Regions from separate parts of the Homo sapiens genome. Here all the other regions are linked to region 4. Evidence: promoter capture Hi-C in 16 types of primary human blood cells and fetal thymus (Javierre and others, 2016). All regions are on one chromosome and are shown on one strand. Each heading gives the region's core, a stretch centred on a gene start or on the middle of the fragment in contact. The rest is flanking DNA. Distances are from core to core; before and after follow the strand shown.

The links. The method cuts DNA at HindIII sites, captures the fragments that hold promoters and counts their contacts. A CHiCAGO score of 5 or more calls a contact.
Region 1: a fragment that was not itself captured here is called in contact with the fragment with the promoter of SLC29A1 in region 4 in 1 of 17 cell types (monocytes); the score reaches 5.6 in monocytes.
Region 2: a contact is called between a fragment that was not itself captured here and the fragment with the promoter of SLC29A1 in region 4, in 1 of 17 cell types (neutrophils). The highest score is 7.6, in neutrophils.
Region 3: a contact is called between a fragment that was not itself captured here and the fragment with the promoter of SLC29A1 in region 4, in 1 of 17 cell types (monocytes). The highest score is 5.7, in monocytes.

The regions. Positions count from the first base shown.
Region 1 is chr6:43,902,578-43,905,277 of GRCh38, reverse strand. The region is part of intron 1 of LINC01512 (long intergenic non-protein coding RNA 1512); the gene reads right to left. It overlaps LOC105375070 (a long non-coding RNA gene), which reads right to left. Exons shown (of 3, transcript XR_007059588.1): 3 at 763-980. Among named protein-coding and RNA genes, the nearest start is that of LINC01512, 13 kb to the right of the region's middle. The HindIII fragment of the contact is 1,598 bases long and covers 581-2,178 here.
Region 2 is chr6:43,722,271-43,724,970 of GRCh38, reverse strand. No RefSeq gene overlaps it. Among named protein-coding and RNA genes, the nearest start is that of MRPS18A, 36 kb to the right of the region's middle. RefSeq lists an enhancer at 1-30. The HindIII fragment of the contact is 7,123 bases long and covers 1-2,700 here.
Region 3 is chr6:43,815,619-43,818,318 of GRCh38, reverse strand. The region is part of intron 1 of LOC105375070 (a long non-coding RNA gene); the gene reads right to left. Among named protein-coding and RNA genes, the nearest start is that of LINC02537, 35 kb to the left of the region's middle. RefSeq lists enhancers at 986-1,045, 1,166-1,215. The HindIII fragment of the contact is 1,289 bases long and covers 786-2,074 here.
Region 4 is chr6:44,222,145-44,224,844 of GRCh38, reverse strand. SLC29A1 (solute carrier family 29 member 1 (Augustine blood group)) reads right to left here and starts at 1,250. Exons shown (of 13, transcript NM_001372327.1): 1 at 1,204-1,250. RefSeq lists enhancers at 171-320, 563-1,421 and a silencer at 1,011-1,410. The HindIII fragment of the contact is 15,932 bases long and covers 1-2,700 here.

The sequences.
Region 1 (2,700 bases), core at 130-2,629, 320 kb after region 4:
ATTATTTTCTAATAATTTTGAAAAGGTGAAAAGAAAGAGAGAGAGAAGGAAGGAAGAGAGAGAAAGAAGGAAGGAGGAAGGGAAGGAGGGGAGGAAAAAAGGAAGGAAGGAAAAAGAAAGAAAGAAAGAAAGAAAGAAAGAAAGAAAGAAAGAAAGAAAGAAAGAAAGAAAGAAAAGAAAGAAAGAAAGAAGAGAAAGAAAGAAAAGAAAGAAAGAAGAGAAAGAAGAGAAAGAAAGAAAGAAGAAAGAAAAAGGAAGAAAGAAAAAGAAAGAAAGAAAGAGAAAGAGACGGAAAGAAAGAAAGAGAGGGAGGGAGGAAGGAAGGAAGGAAGGAAGGAAGGAAGGAAGGAAGGAAGGAAAGGAAGGAATCCAATAAGTACTGGAGAATATAGTAAAAAGCAAGTCTCCCTCCCACTCCTGTGTCCCCTCCCGTAGACCATCCCCTGAGGCCAGCGGTGGCCAGTGACTCACCTTCTTCCTGGAGATGTTCTAGGCATATACGAGCACCATATTGTTGTGCAGAGAGCTGCCTTATTCTTTCTCTGGCTTTGTTGTAAAGAAGATGTATTTTTAAAAAGCTTCTCAGCAAATTTGGATAAAAAGCTAATTTGGGGAAGAACTGACTGAGCAAACTTCTTTGGAGCTGACAACTCTATCTAGATTCAAATTTTGACTGTGACATTTATGAGTTTAGTGACCTTGGACAAGATCCATGACCTCTTCAACCTCCAAGCCTTAGTTTTCCTATCCATAGAGGGAGGATAACCGTGGTAGAGTTTTAATGATGATTAGAAATAATTTATGGCCAGTGCCTGGTGCATACTAGGAGATAATAATAATGGGTGGGGGGGGGGTGTGATACATTTACATGCTATGCAGTGACATAAGAATAATCACAAAGAAAGTTTCAGCAAACACAAAGGGTTCCAAGGTGGGCCGTGCTGCAAGATGAATCCTTTCAGCTGAGGTGGAGGAAGAATCTGTAGAAGAACAAGAAAGAAGGAGATGTCCTTCTGGGCAGCGAGCCCCCATCCCCAAAGTCTGTAAGTGACACCAGAGGACACTCTGTCAGGGATTCTGCACAAGAGATGTGGCGGGCCAGATGAGATGCCTTCCAGGCACTTCCCAGCTCTGGGAGACTGTGCATAGCCATACACTCAGAATGCTGAGAGGTAACTTTCCGGGTAGAACTGACAAGCCTGAGGTGTACCTGTTTGTAGGATAATCTACTGTTGGTCTGGATGGCAGATGTCACTAAGTCAAGGGCTGGCAGGGCCAGTGTTGCCAGGAAACCGCAGCCCCAGGCTGACCGGGGCCACTGCCATGAGTGCTTCAATCAGGCCCAGTGCTCTGCCTTCAATCAGGCCCAGGCTCCCTGTTTGTTCGCAGGAGCCTGGTGGCTCCTGACTGATAGGGACTTGGGCTTCCCGTGCATGCTGTCTGGTCTTGGGCACACAGGAGCTAAAGAACTCTTTGTAGAATTACCTTCTGAATCACAAAACCTAGTTGGAAAAAAAATAATTCCATGAAATTCAGGAAAAGAGTTGGGAGAGGGGTTGAGTAAGAAGTGAGTTCAAATCCCAGCTCTGCAATTTCCTAGAGGTACAACTTCAGGGGCACTATGTAATTTTCCCTCCTTAGAGCCTTAGTTGCTTTTTTTCTTTCCCTTTTGAGACAGGGTCTTGCTCTGTCATCCAGGCTGGAATGCAGTGGCATGATCAGAGAGCTCACTGCAGCCTGGACCTTCTGGGCTCAAGTGATTCTCCCGTCTCAGCCTCCCAAGTAGCTGGGACTACAGGCATGCGGCACTGTGCCCAGCTAATTATTTTAATTTTATTTTTTGTAGAGACAAGGTCTCACTATGTTGCCCACACTGGTCTCAAACTTCTGGGCCCAAACGATCCCCCTGCCTCGGCCTCCCAAAGTGCTGGGATTACAGGTGTGAGCCACCACACCGGACACCTTCATTTCCTTGTTTGTGAAATAGGGCCTTCCTTCAAGAATTAAGTCATATAATGTCTGTTAAGAAACTAGCATAGGGCCTGCTACACAACAATAATAATCTAAATTTGTCATTTTTTTCCCTTCAAAATAGACAGCTGTTGGGATTCAATTGATTATATTTGCAAATGAATTTTATATGTACTGCTTTTGAGTAGTCACTGAAGTAGAAAAGCTTTATCAAGGAGATTTTTTGGTAGGAAGTGAGTTCTGAATGGGGGTTGAAAAGGACTCTAATTAATTCAGTAATTTTTTTATTGAACAACTACCATATGCCAGGCATGATCTTAGGCTCTGGAAATGAAGCAGTGTACAAAGTGGACCAGAATTCCTGCCCTCATGGAGTGTACCTTTTAGTGAACTGTCTTAGAACCAAAGCTGCCACTTTGGGAGGGGGACTTATCCAGACTCGAACAGCCCCTTTCCTACTCCTTCTCTGTTGATAGGATCAGACCAGGCTGCTTCCCCACCCCAGGAAAGAATAGCCTGGCTAGTACCATAGGTCACACTTCACTGATCCTAGGGCACCCAATCTGGGTCTGACCTGCAAGACTCACATGGAGTGAGGGGCTGGCAAGGGGCTCCAGGTCCTGCAGAACACTCATCCCACTCTGGTATCTGTCCACACCCAGAAAGTCTCCCTCCAGATGCTAGCCAGGGGCCCTTGGCCTTCTCTGGGTAAGTAATGGGGTAGGTGGA
Region 2 (2,700 bases), core at 148-2,647, 500 kb after region 4:
GATGATCTACATACCCAATTGCCCTCTGCGCCCCTCAACACCCTCCAAACCACCACCACCATCTCCCTTCCTGTAGGAATGTCAGCAAGAGAGGGAAGCAAGAATCTGCACAGAGAGGAGACGGAGGGGTGGATAAGATGACCTCTAAAAGGGCCCTTTCCTCTTGGGGCTTCTCCCCAGTAGAAGTGGGTGTGCCTTGAGGGGAGCTCCATCATCACCCTTTCTCCAGGAAGACCGAGGACAGTGGCCAGAGCTCTTTTGAGAAGAGACTAAGGAGCAGGAGGCAGGGGATGGGTAACTTTCTTCTGGAGGCAGGGGATGGGTAACTTTCTTCTTTGTAGTTTTTTCCCCCACTTTTCTACAACAGACATGTGTCACACACTACTTGCAATGGGTGGAGGAGGGAGTGTGTTGGGAGGGCAAATGCTCTTGGGGAAGGTTAATGTATCAAGCACACCCCCTTTCCCACCCTTAAGCCAGCATTTCCCTAACTATGTTGTGGCAAACGGGCTCAAATAAGCACAGGAAACCTGAGTTAAACACAGTCTAACAGGTTTTCTTGACTGCAGGACTTCTCTGAGCCTCTAACATGCTAATCTGGGCTACAACCCTCAGAGACGAGGGACGAGACAAGGAAACGCATTTAATCTCAGAGCTCTTTATAGGGGAGCATCTCAAGATGCACTTACTAGGCACTGCTGGAACTCAGAGTCCGGTGGCACGCCAGGCCCACACCCCATTGGTGAAGAGCCTCCATGGAGGAGAGACAGCCTAGGCCCCGGAGGACACCAAGGGCAGATGCCCTAGGCAGCTACCTCCCACTGCGTGAGTCCAATCCCAATCCTTCTCCCCAGAACTGGTCCAAGACCTGTATCCCAGTTACGAAGGCAGGTAGTAATGTGGGAGGGCCCATGGGTGGCCCTGCCGCTTCCCTGAAGTTACTTAGATCTGCAGTGACCCCTGCTGGCTCTAGCCAAAATCACCCCTCCCCTTACTCCTCACCTTCCTCCTTGCCAATCCCTGGCCCTCCAGCCTCTTCCTCATTAGCCTTGACGCAGCCCCATCAGGACCCACCGTGACCACACCCAAACACCAGATCCTTTATGCTTTCCTTCATGCCTGGGGTTGGAATCTGGCCAGGCTTTGACTGAGCAACATGTTAGTGAGTTCTGAGGCCTGTGCTGGGGAGGCCCTGATGGCATGAGGAAGAGGGCTCCGAGGACAGCCTGACCCCTTATCAAGGGCACAGTCACCCGCATGGAAGTTCAAGACCACTATCATAACAGCAAACATTCATTGGCTTTTTCAGGAACAGAGCTGAATCCTTTATGTCGAGTATTCCATTTAATTCTCATAAGAATTCTACAGGCACTGTTCCTGCATTGATCCAGTTTTCCAATGAGAAACTGAGGCTCAGAAGTTTAAAAATTACCAAATGGCAAAACTCAGATTCAAATCTGGATTTCTGGATTTGAGCCCACCCGTTCCTTCCCCGTGCTATTTTGCTCTTCTTGCTTCTGCCCACCCCTCAATCCACCTACAGTGTTCAAGTGTAGTTTTTTCTGCCCAGTGCCCGTGGTTTTGGGGAAGATGACTCAAGTGGACTTGCCTCATGTCCTCCAAGCATGGCCTTGTGAGCAGACCTAGCCAGTCATTATACCCTTCCCCCTAGTCAACGGGAACACAGATTGGGTTTTCATCCCCCGGAACCCATTCTTTCTTCTGATAAATAGCCTCTTGATTTCCTCTGGGCAGTCCCTACACTCTCAGTAAAAGTGGCTTGGATGGAAATGACTCCATCTCCCTGTCTCCGTGGGAAGATTCAGACCACTCAAGCACAGAAAAAAAAAAAAAAAAAAAAAAAAGTCCTATCCATAGTGATTGGTTCAGGAAGGACATATGACCAAACCAGGCCCATCAGAGTCAATCCTGGAATTTTACTGGAGCCACTGGGAAGAAGAATGGCTTTCTGCTCTCTCCGAAGTTACTAAATGGGTACGTATATTCCAAGAGTTTCCAGGAGTACTGCCTAAGGAGAACATGCGCGAGAAGGAAGCCCACACAGAGGAGAGCAGAGACCAAGCCCTGCAGACATTGTCCGGGCTGTGCCAAAGACAGACTCACCCCTGGACTCTTCAGTGATATAAGCCAATAAATTACTTTTTTGTTGTTGTTTTTGTCTTAAGCAAGTATGAGTTGGGTTCCTGTCCTTTGAAACAAAGATCTATCGAAGCCTCCCCCCATTATTCCTCATTGTTAACAGCTGTGTTTCCTTCTTGCCTTTTTCTCCCATGCTTACACAGACATACTGGACACTTTCTAAATAAAAATTGACGCCACTGGCTACTCCTTTCTTCAAGATATACTCTTTCGCTTATTTTTGTAAAGCCTAGCTCCCGGTTTTCGGCTCTCTTCCTGCCCCTCTGAAGTCCTGTCCATCTTATTTTCCTTCACTGGCTCCTCTCTGTTTGCGAGTAACAGAAACCACCTCTGGCACTTATAAGAAAAAATAAAAAACAAAAGAATTAACTGGAAAAATATTAAGGAGCTAGGTCAGAGAATCGACTGGGAGTCTGGAGTACCTAACTTGGAAACCAGACAGAAGTGACTTGGCTGAACTCCAAAGGCCCCTTCCATCCTAGTGTCAGGATGCTCAAGATGCCCAGACCCAAGAGTCTGACCAGCTGAGTTTAGGTCAGA
Region 3 (2,700 bases), core at 181-2,680, 410 kb after region 4:
TTTCTATTGCCCTTCTGCCTAACCATCTGGCCAGGCCATTGGCCAATGCCCATGAGTCGGTAAAAACCCAACCACAGGGGCTTCTGGCATCGTTCAATTCTTCCATCGCTGTTAGGAAAGCAGCATGTGATTCAGCCCACCAAGCTGATTAGTTTTTACCTTCTTGGATCATAGTAGCAGCCTTCCAAACAGGAGGTTGTCCATTTACCTTGGAACTGCCATCCACAAACCAAGCAGCTATTTGCTGGTCAGTTGAGAGCACTGTAGGATCCACAGCTCCTCACACAGTTCCACAGTCAGTCCTAGGGTGTAATGAGGCTCCCTGCTCATATCTCCTCCTTACATTCCTCAGGTTGCATGATTCTGTATAAGCCATTTCCATTTTATTATGGAACCCTCCTGGGCACTGCTGTCCTCATTAGAGTGTTTTTCTGACATCACCCGGGACAGCATGGATGTTTCAGGTGTCAAGATCATTTTATGTCCTTCAGACATGGGGTACCAAGGATACAATGAACAGATGCGTAAGACAAGGTATGCAGGAAGGACGTGGAGCTTCCATGCCCTCCCTGGGCGCACCGCCCTCCAGGAACGGCCATGTTTCCAGCTATCCAGAAGCTTCCCACTTTTCTAATGCTCACTAACTACTCCTTCCATAATCCACAAGGATCCTTGCCCAGGACTCTTTTTAAAACTCAGAACCACGTTTTTCCCTTCTCAAGGCCCCCGTGCTCTTGGCTTTCTCAGGTGGGACAAAGTGGCCCCAGCAGTCTGGTTCACAAGCTTCCTTTGTGCCCCAAGTGTTGTTTTATGGGGAGAGGCCCTTTGAACACCCCAGCAGCAGTGGAGAGGGGAGGGCCCATCCCACCTCCAGGGCTCCCTGGGCCTCTGTGTCATCTACTGCTGCCCTCTGGGTTTGCAGGCTGCTCTCCTGCCAGGGGGCAGCAAGGAGCCCTACTCTTCGTACACTCCCCACCCGTGCTGTGTCATCAGGCCCAACTGCAGCCTCTGGATCCCTTGATCTTGACTGGCTATGATCACAGCTAAACAAGCCTGGGTTGCCCCTAGCATCTTTCACAAACCTCTACCTATTTTTATCTTCCAGAAACTCTCTTTACAGGCCCGTAGTCCTGTCTCACATCTGTCCTTCCCTTCTCTGTTCAAGCCTCCTTAACACAGCAATTTGGCAAAGAGCTCTCCTGCCACACACTGATTTCTGTGGTCACCTCCCTTCTTCCTTCATTACTGGGACGCAGACTACCCTGTGTGGGATTGCACAGTGTCATGTACATTTTTGAGAGCTTCCCAGCCCTCTTGAGACAGCTATCCCACCCAGAGATTCGTGGCATGGAACCCTGCCTGTCTTTTTGCTGAAATATTGGCAGTCTGACTTTGGAAAGTCTGTTCCAGGCCCAAGTCTGTTCCAGGCCCTCCACAGCTCTCATCTGGATGGCTGCAAGAACCTCCTTGCTGGTCTCCCTGCTGCACTCTGAGCTTCTCACGGCCTCTCCCACCCACCCAATCTCTGTACCAGCATTGAGTAATATTTCTAAATTGCACAGCCAGCCCTGCCCCTGCACTGGCAGAAGCCAGGATAAATTGGTTAGACAAGGTTGACAGCATGACTTTCAAAGCCCACCGTGGCCTGGTTTCTTCCCCTCTCCACCTGCACCTCCTCTCTCTCTCTCTCTGTCTCTCTCTCTCCCCATCACTTAACTAAATATCTAATTGTGCTCACTTTCCTGGACATACTAGGTTATTTCACATGTCTATTTCTGCTTCTGCTCCTGCTGTCAATCTACCTAGGATGACGTTGCAACTGTTCTTGATACAGCTGCTCTAAAACTCACTCAGGAGCCACCTTTTCCAGGAACCCTTCCCTGAGCCCCCAAGTTAGGCCAACTCTGCTCCTCTGGTTTCTCTTTGCATCCTGAGCCTATCCTAGCTCTTACCACACAAGGCAGGCACTGCTCATCCTACCTAACAGTGATTCTGCTCCACCCTTTCTTCCTTGCCACCAGAACCTCACCTTTTCGGGTGACAATGTATCTAGGCCCAGAAGATGAGTCAAGCTTCATCTAAGACATCACCAGCATCCTGTTCCTATTTGCTAGTCCCTCAGTTTCCCAGCCTCCCTGAAGCATTTCCTCTCAGTTGTGCCCAATGATACATGAGAGGTCATTTTCAGAGGGGGTATCTGGGAAACACGTTTCTTCCCTGATAAAAATAGAGCCCCTTTCTCTCCTTGGCTTTTTTCTTTTCTGCCTTGAATATAATTATAGGAGTCACCATAGCAGCCATCTTGTGACCAGGAGGCAACAAGCATGGAGACAAAAATTAACACGTTGAAGATGGCAGAGCAGAAGGATAGAAAAAGGCTGAGTTTTGATAGCATCATTGATGTCATCCTTTCACCAAAGCTGGAACCCTCTGCCTCCAGACTTCCAGTGATGTGATATTGATCAATGTCTTTATTGCTCAAGCCACTGTCTGTTGGGTATTCTGTTGCTTGATACCAAATATATTCCCAACTGATGTGGGCTGTCATAAAAACAATCTTGGTATCTGCCTCCATGACTAGACTCCTTGAGGGCAGGAATGGTGTCTTATTTTTCTTAGTATTCCCAGAGCCTAACACAATGACTCAATAAATTATGGTTCGAAGGAATTAAACTGATGACTTCCCTTCCCTCTCGATTA
Region 4 (2,700 bases), core at 1-2,500:
GATACCAGCTCAGAGCATCTGGTGTCCCTCCAACTATGCCTTGGCCTGCTGAGGTGGGCCCCTGAAAGTAGCCACCAAATTGAGTACCTCCCTGCCTCCAGACTCCCAACACCTCTCCTGCAATTCTCCACTCCCAGGATTTCATATGGGGCTAGCCACTACCTGCAGATCTCTTGTCTTTTCTTCACAACCACCCATAAGCTAGTACTAGCACTGAATAGATGGGGCCAGCTGAGGTTCAGAGGGGTTGAGTCACTTGCCTGAAGTCACAGAGCTGGTGAGTGGAGGAGCTAGAATCCATATTAAATGTTCAAGCTCCTTTTGGAATGGAGAGAGGTATAAAAGCTGCTTCTCAGTTAGCCCTGTAGACTGGGAGGTGGGGGGAACTCTGATTCAACTAAAGGGAAAAATGAGGTGGAGACCAAGATCATTCCCAGCCTGACTTGAGTGTCAGGCAGCTCAGCCCCGCCCCATCACACACATCCTGGCATGGGGAGCTTACACAAGCAGGAGGAAAGTTGGAGGGTCTGGAGGCCACCGAGAGGAGTAGGCAAAGGGACTACCACAGGGCTGCAGAGAGACCCCTAGAGGTGTGAGGGCAGGGTTGGAGCCAGCCTTGACCTACGACTGCTCTCTCCTGGTAAGCAAAGCCGAGGACTGTTTGTCTTCACCCTCTCATATACCCTCACAGTAAATCAGTAAATGAAGACGTGCGCAGGAAGGAGACGCCAGGGATACGAGTTTAGCCAGTAAAAGACCGGGGTTAAAGAGACAGCCCCGCACCTCCGCTCGCGAGCCTGCACCTCCGCTCGCGAGCCTCCATCCCCATCCCCATCCCCATACCCCTCCGCCAGCGCAGTCAGCGGCACGGCCCCTCCCTGATACCGACCAGATCGATGGGGATCACCCGTCCACTCGCCTGCCCCTTGCGGAGGTCAACGTGACCGCAGCCTGTTTTAGGCCCGGGAGCCAGGCCGCCCCGCCCAGCTTGGGTCCCGGTCCCCGCAGGGTCCTCAGGCTCCCTGGCCCGTGCGCGCCACGTGCTGCGCGGCTCCGCACGCTCCGCACTGGGGCCCCACCCGGCGTCCCTTCTCCGGGCTGCGGAGCCGTCAGGCCCGCCCTCCCTGCCCTCCGTGGCAGGCGGGCAGCGGCGTCTTCCGCCCCGGCAGTCCCCAGTCCCCAGTCCCCGGCCCCGGGCAGCACCTGCCGCAGAAGCACTGCTCCCGCGCTGAGATCCGCGCGCTCTCGCTGCAGCTTCCCTCTCCCGCCGGGGCACATTCAAACCCGCCCTCCGCTGAGCTCGCCCCGCCCTGCGCCCACTGCCACCTCCCCGACGCCCGCGGCCCCGCCCCCGGCCCACCCCTGCCACCCCGCGGCGACTCCGCGCGCTCCGCCGCTCCCACCCCGAGCCCCTGCGCCCCCAGGGCCGCCTGGTCGTGTTATTGCGGTAGATAGGACCTCTTTGGGCCCTGCCACACCAAGGCTGTCTGTCCATCGTGTGGGGTACATGGGGCTGGAGGGTACAGCCACACATTAAGGACCTGCGCAGACTCCCATAAAATTCATCTCGGGACTGTTCCATTTACACACCCGCTGCTCAGACCGGCCCCGACGCTCCACGGCCCACTCCACCTCAGATATTCCGTTATCCCTTCCCAAGCCCTGCCCACGCCGCGCTTCCTCCACACTGCACCTTTTTCCTCCCAGCGCCCTCCCTTTCAGCGCCCCCTTCTTTCTTTCAGTCCCCCTCCTCTTCTTTTCCTTCAAAACTGCTTCTGTCCCCACCGCGCATTTTCTGTGACCAGCATGATGGGTTTTCCCATCCCTGACACATCCAGTCCCAGCCACAGACGCGCAAACACCACCCCACTCACAACTTTGACTTGGAGGGGGTATGTGCCTCTGCCTGTGCTTGCGTGTGCGCGCGGAGGGGGGTGGGGCAAAGCCCTCCAGCTCCCTCATAATTCACCCTTTCTAAATCCAGCACTTTGGAAAACTGAGGCACAGGTGGGAATGGGAAGAGAAAAAGCTAGGAACAGCCTTATATCCTCAGTGAATCCTATTGTCCCAGCCATCCTGACAGGCGGAAGCCTTGCTGAGTATGTCTTTCACTAGCTAAGGAGGAAGGTGTGGGCGTGCTGAGGGGTGGTCCAGCAAGTCCCTCCAAGGGAGGGGGAGGGAGGCCCTCTCTTTGGTCGGGCAATAAATGGGGTGGGGTGGGGGGCACTCCCTGCCCTTCCAGCAGTACTCAGTGCTAGAGGATGATCCTAAGGCTGGAAAGGTCCTGAGGAGAAAATCCAACCCACGCTGCCCACCCCATGCCCACTGACCCGAAGGGCTTGTCCCCTAGAGAAGCCACAGACACTGATTAACAACTGGCAGTACCTCACATCATAGGGATAAGGTAGTCCTACCCTGTCCCCAGAGAAACAGACAGGGCCCTAAGGAGAGAGGTGGCTTTTCTAATTAGGGTCAGTGGCTCTCCCCAAGCTACTCCAGAATGGGTGTCCCCAGCCTTCTGTTTCCATGCCCCACAGAGATGACACACATATTCCTTCCCAACCCTCCCCCACCCCACCCCCATCCCCCACATCCCCGCCAGCCCTAACCAGAGGGCAGGAAGATGGGTTTAGGTGGTATTTTTCCAGGCACAGCCCCATGACTTGAGAGTGGCTTCATGTCTGTCCACAACCCCCTAAT